Linked DNA regions of Homo sapiens: region 2 is linked to region 1. The links are contacts of gene promoters, found by promoter capture Hi-C in blood cells and fetal thymus (Javierre and others, 2016). All regions are on one chromosome and are shown on one strand. Each heading gives the region's core, a stretch centred on a gene start or on the middle of the fragment in contact. The rest is flanking DNA. Distances are from core to core; before and after follow the strand shown. Region 1 holds the start of KRT31 (keratin 31). Region 2 has its middle 15 kb from the start of KRTAP9-2.

Region 1 (3,291 bases), core at 36-2,535:
ATAAAGATTAAAGCCAACATGGATATATTATGGAATATAGGGTCAATTCATATGAAGTTTAAAGATCAACTACAAGTGATTTCAGGCCGTGGAGGCCCCTTTGGGCTATCTCCTGACTTTCCTAACATATCCATCTACTCTGTTCGGATACTATGGATAACCTTAGGAAATGTTTGACAAAGACCTCCTTATTCCTTTCTCTCTGCCCCTGAATATCTTTCCTAGATTATTTAAATGCATTTTTTTTGTTTTGTTTTGTATTTTGAGATGGAGTCTTGCTCTGTCACCAGGCTGGAGTGCAGTGGCACCATCTCGGCTTACTGCAACCTTCACCTCCCAGGTTCAAGTGATTCTCCTGCCTCAGCTTCCCGAGTAGCTGGGACTACAGGTGGGTGCCACCATGCCCAGCTAATTTTTTTGTATTTTTAGTAGAGATGGGTTTCACTATGTTGGCCAGGATGGTCTCTATCTCTAGACCTCGTGATCCGCCGGCCTCGGCCTCCCAAAGTATTGAGATTACAGGCGTGAGCCATTGTGCCCAGCCTTAAATGTGTTTTTTATGGCTCTCTCGGTTTGCACTTTTCAGCCTCTTTCAAAACGATCTCTTACCCCAGAAACTTCTTGTTCTCCAACTAGTTATCAAAGCCTCTACCTTTAAAATTCTCTCCTCTACAATTTTCTTAAGTAATATGTGGTGGTGGGGGGGAAGTATTACACGGACCCGTAAAACACAAATCGCTGTCTAATCTTTTCAGTCGTGTCCTCCATTGATTCTAATCATCCACCTTAAGGCTTCCAAGGCACAGAATGCTCCATCATTTGAAGATTCTTCTCTAAATGCAGAGGGAAAGACAGTCCACTGTGGCCTCTTAATGCAACTTCTTCCTCAAATCAATCCGTGTTTCTCCCTAGAAACGGCAGGTGGACCAGGACATGAGTATGTTTATGGGCCTGCAGAATTATGTGACACAAAAGAATGTCATCGGATGGATCAACACCTCAATTAATGAGGGCAGATACTTGGGCTGGACTGTGTAGCCTCTTTGAAGGCCTACCACAGAACTCTGATTTCATGGGTGGACTGTCTGCGGAGGAGTCCTGACTTAGCAAGAAGCCCAAGTAAAGAATTTTATGGGAGAAGGGACTCTTCAGAGGAAGGCAAATAACAGACTGAAGGAAAGGGCGTTTGAAAAGAAGTGAAGAAATAAAAAGAAAAAAGACATTACATACTGTGTCCACACCCTCTGCAGTGGGATATAAATGCTCCCTAGAGGAAGGAGACCCACAGCTCTGTGGCTTGGAGAATTTAGACTCTGTCTTCAGCCAGGCACTCCCTCCCTCCCTCCCAGCACTATGCCCTACAACTTCTGCCTGCCCAGCCTGAGCTGCCGCACCAGCTGCTCCTCCCGGCCCTGCGTGCCCCCCAGCTGCCACAGCTGCACCCTGCCCGGGGCCTGCAACATCCCCGCCAATGTGAGCAACTGCAACTGGTTCTGCGAGGGCTCCTTCAATGGTAGCGAGAAGGAGACTATGCAGTTCCTGAACGACCGCCTGGCCAGCTACCTGGAGAAAGTGCGTCAGCTGGAGCGGGACAACGCGGAGCTGGAGAACCTCATCCGGGAGCGGTCTCAGCAGCAGGAGCCCTTGCTGTGCCCCAGTTACCAGTCCTATTTTAAGACCATTGAGGAGCTCCAGCAGAAGGTGAGCGGCATTGCTGTCATCTCCAAGCAAGAGAGTTTGCTGTGATTCTGTCTGTGATAGAGAAGTGTGTTTCTTGCTTCTGTGCTGTCATAATTCTTGCTTCCTCTTTTATTTCAAAATGGCTTAAGTCATTTTTAAAAAGTTGATGATTTCATATTTATTTTCAGTCCTCACTAAGCCACCTCTCACTCCCCAGATCCTGTGTACCAAGTCTGAGAATGCCAGGCTTGTGGTGCAGATCGACAACGCCAAGCTGGCTGCGGATGATTTCAGAACCAAGTGAGTTGTTCGGAATTTGCACTAGTGTCAATTGCTTCTGTTTAATCTTTAAAGAAAAGGGATTTCCATCTGAAAACAGATCTACCCACTTGTTGTGAAGGATTCTGCAGAGGACTGGGGAGAACCAAGCAAAGAAATGCAAAAATGGATGAGGACTCACATCAATCTGTTTGTTTTGGGATGAATATTGGGTATTGATGGAGCCTCCAGAAACCTCTGTCTCCTGGGCCTATTCATTACAGAAAGTGGAAAGATAAGGCACATGAGGTTATCAAAAATCATTCCTGTGAGTCTTGAAGATCTACCAGGTAGTACTCTGACCCTGTCCTTGCGCAGGTACCAGACCGAGCTGTCCCTGCGGCAGCTGGTGGAGTCGGACATCAACGGTCTGCGCAGGATCCTGGATGAGCTGACCCTGTGCAAGTCCGACCTGGAGGCCCAGGTGGAGTCCCTGAAGGAGGAGCTGCTCTGCCTCAAGAGCAACCATGAGCAGGTGAGACTAGAAATGAGAAATGCACAAACCTGTCTCAGCCTCTGGCTCAGGGTTGCTTTAGTGATTTGGGGCAGCAGAATGCAGAGTATGAGTACAAGACTGAGGGTTTCCTTTGAAAACATCACGGTAAGAGAAAAATTGGAGAGAGATAAGACCTGTTCATGTTCCCAGACAGGAAACATCTTTCACTTTAAACTAGCACATTATTTGAGTTGCCCGGAGCAGCTCCATGTGCTTGCAGTTGATCAATAGTTGTAGAATGAGTCCTAGCATTGCAGTGTTATTGCTTTGTAAAGTCTTTTTTTTTTTTTTTTGGCAAAGGCCAAGAAAAAAAATATCAAACCTTATAAATGTGAGTCTCTACTCTTTCAAAGTATTGGTGAAGAGTGTTTGTGAGATTCTTCCTCTCTCTTGGGAGGGGCCATGACATGCTCTTACCTCTTACTTGACAGCAAGAGTTTTTTGATATATGGTCTGAAATTGCACAGCCTATTTTTTTTGGCATTCTGAGGTCCTCACAGCCAATTGTAAACTGGGAAAGTTGAATATCAATTAGTTCATCCTTCAGTGGCATCCAAGCAAACTTTTGGGATTTTTTTCTGAAGCCAAGTGCCATGGCACAGCAGATGGTGGGGAGGGGGCTATGCCACATGGAGTGCCTTGAGCTGTCACAAACTGCTCCACTCAAAGTTTCTTTTCCGAGAAAATAGACTAACAGGGTTTCAACAAGCAATGCCATTCCTTAGAGTTCATTCTTTGCTGAGCATAGTAACTCTTGTATTTTCTGCATCCATAGGAGGTCAATACCCTGCGCTGCC
Region 2 (3,056 bases), core at 107-2,606, 190 kb after region 1:
AAAAAAAAAAAAAAAGAATAAATGGATACCTGGCTGGTCTGATGATGGAAGTTTATTCTATGCAGGTAGTAATCTGTGGTAAGTTGATCAATAACTGCAAGGCTGGCAGCCCCTAGACACACAACAGGCTGATTGGCAGCAGGGCTAGCAGCAGCTGGATCCATAGCTCTGGTTTAGGCAACCTGTCAGGCAGACACACATGGGGTGGTAGCAAGTTCTCCTGTAGTAGATGGGTGCACAGAAGCTGGGCTGGCAGCAGCTGGACCCACTGCCAGTTTGGCCGTAACAGCTGGACCCACAGCAGGTGGGCTGGCAGCAGGGTGTGCTGCAGCAGGAAGACTGGCAGCAGCTTGTCACACAGGTGTACTGGCAGCAAGTGGTCCTGCAGCAGGTGGCCTCACAGTAGGCTGGGCAGCAGGCAGCAGGGCTGGCAGCAGCTGGATCCACATATCTGGTCTAGGCAACTAGGCAGGCAGACACACATGGAATGGTAGCACGTTCTCTGGTAGACGGGTGCACAGCAGCTAGGTTGGCAGCAGGATGTGTTGCAGCAACTGGGGGGGTGGCAACAAGACTGGCAGCAGCTGGACACACAGCAGGTGGTCCTGCAGCACGTCGTAGGCTGGCAGCAAGGGGAGCAGCAGTGGGTCATGGCGTCAGGGGTGGAGGGTGCACTCCTGTTCAGAGGTGAGTTTCCTAGAGTTTGATAACGTTATTCAATCTGAACCTTTTATACATGGTACCCCAAAGTTTTGATTAATGAGCAGAACTTGTCTTTGATACTTCTCTAGTCTTTTGGGAAATGTCCCAAGGAGGAAGTTGTCTATTCAGTGCTGTGAATTTTCTTTGAGTAATTGATTTATTTGCTTTCTTAATTGACAAATAACCAGTCAGGACTATTTTCCTGAACTGAGAAATGAATCATTCTCCCTACCAATTAAGCACTGATCCTCATTTTTAAAGCTGAGTACAGTATTTGGTCATCTAACAGGTCCTATGTAGCTTAGTGAGATGTCAGGACAATTGTTAGTCACCATCTGTTTTTCCTTATTGCTATTTACTTTGGAAAGTACCTCTGAAGATAGGATGATGTTGAGTCATGGTGATGAGTTAAAAACCAAGTTTAGGGAGGGCTTGTGATGCCACCTGTAATGTAGAAGCTAGTATAAGATTTATCCTCCTGCTATAAACAATAATAAAAGCTTTGTAAATATATAAAACAACTGTTTGCAGATATTGGATGACAATCAGCTTTGGGTTATGATCCTTGAAGGAAGACACATGGGGTAAAAAAAGAAACACATGGGTTTGTATGTTTTCAAAATTGCTGCTGCAGCACATCCTGCTGCCAGTCCACCTGCTGCAGCAGCTGCAGCTGTTATGGCCAAATGCCAGAAGAAATAGAGTCCACATAGAGAGCAGAGGAGAGATAGGCGTTAAAGGGGTTTATCACAATTCCTTCTCTCAGTCTGAAATGTGATTTTTGATGGTTAAGTTTTCTAAAGCTTTATCCAGTTAAAATTATCAGTCATTTCTTTTCGAATAATAATATTTTTGTCTTGGTCAGGAGGTATTTATCTACCTAAAAATAAAAAAAATCACATAAATCATCTAGTGAGGATTTAAGATTTTTTTTGACCTTCAAGATATTGATACACCTGGAATTGATTTTTTTCCTACATGATGAGTGATCAGAATCCAAGTTCATCTTTTCCATGTAAATACTTTTCCATGTAAATACTGGAAACAGGTTTGATTATGATTCCTTTGATTATGGAACATTTTCAGCTTTATTGCTGGATATGTTCTCATTTTCATCCAGAATATTATTTATTTGTGTCTTCTTTACATTTCTTGATCAATCTTTTCAATGGCTTATCATTTATTGGTATTTTTTTTGAAAAAGAAATTTTGGCTTTGTTCATCTTCTCTGTGATGTCGTTTTTAACTAGTTCATTGATTTACATTTTATGCTATTTTGGTTGTTTTCCTTTTTCTTATTCACTTAGGTGAACACTTAGTTCATTTATTTTTAGGTTTTATTCTTGTTTAATATTTAAATATTAAAGGCTATTTAAAGTGTGTACATTTTATCAAAGATCATTTTATAACACCCCACAAGTCTTGATATGTAATATTTTCATTATAATTGAGTTACACATTTTTTCCTTAACATTAGAGATTCTTCCATTTTGGTCTTCCAAGTCAGTATATCTTCTGCAGCTTATCTCACTTATTGTGTACTTTAATGACTATATGCTCTATTATTAATTTAGTATCAGATATTATGCCTGCTTGTGTCTCCTACCCCATTATACATGTTTGTTTTTATTAATTTTTCATTTTGAAATAATTTCATACTCATAGAAAATTGTAAACACAGTACAAAGGATTCCCATATGCCTTCACTTGGATTCCTCAAATGTTAACATTTTACCATGCTTCTTTAACATTATTTCTATACATATATGTGTTACTACTGTTGGTTTTTAAAAGTAAGTTGCAGATAGAATTTCCCTTTATCACTAAATACCACTTTATCCCTATGTACTTCAGTGTGTGTTTCTTGTCACAGCCCAATGATCAAAACCAAAATGTTAATGCCGTTGCAGGATAGTCTCTGGTTGGTTCTTATTCATGTTGTGTGTGTGTGTGTTTTTGTATTTGTCTATATTGGTAATAGCTTCCTTTATGTCTTTAAATGCATTTATTATGTTTAGTTAAAACCCAGTTGAAGATTTGCTGACTGGGAAGATGGAGTGGACAGACTTTTCCATATTCTTTCTGCTAAGTACAACTAAAAATTCTGGATATTATATATAAAGCAAACACGAGAGGACTCTGAAAGGTGGAGTGAAGAAAGCAGCCAGGCTAGAAGCCTCAGGACTTAAGGAACAATAAGGTGGGGTTCTCTGGGTTTTCTTTGTGCTGCAAGTACCCCCCAGACTTGGAGCTTGAGAAGCCTGTAACTCTGAAACTCTAGTGGATGCACACACACACACACACACACACACACACACAGTTCCAATAAATGCTTCTCTCTACCTAAAGGGTCA

What was found. Contacts are between HindIII fragments. The CHiCAGO score rates a contact against its expected background, and 5 or more counts as called.
Region 2: a contact is called between a fragment that was not itself captured here and the fragment with the promoter of KRT31 in region 1, in 1 of 17 cell types (total CD8 T cells). The highest score is 5.7, in total CD8 T cells.

What each region holds. Positions count from the first base shown.
Region 1 is chr17:41,395,602-41,398,892 of GRCh38, reverse strand. It overlaps KRT31 (keratin 31), which reads left to right and starts at 1,285. Exons shown (of 7, transcript NM_002277.3): 1 at 1,285-1,701; 2 at 1,898-1,980; 3 at 2,317-2,473; 4 at 3,270-3,291. The coding sequence starts at 1,354. The HindIII fragment of the contact is 10,261 bases long and covers 1-3,291 here.
Region 2 is chr17:41,210,302-41,213,357 of GRCh38, reverse strand. It overlaps the pseudogene KRTAP9-12P. Among named protein-coding and RNA genes, the nearest start is that of KRTAP9-2, 15 kb to the left of the region's middle. The HindIII fragment of the contact is 303 bases long and covers 1,205-1,507 here.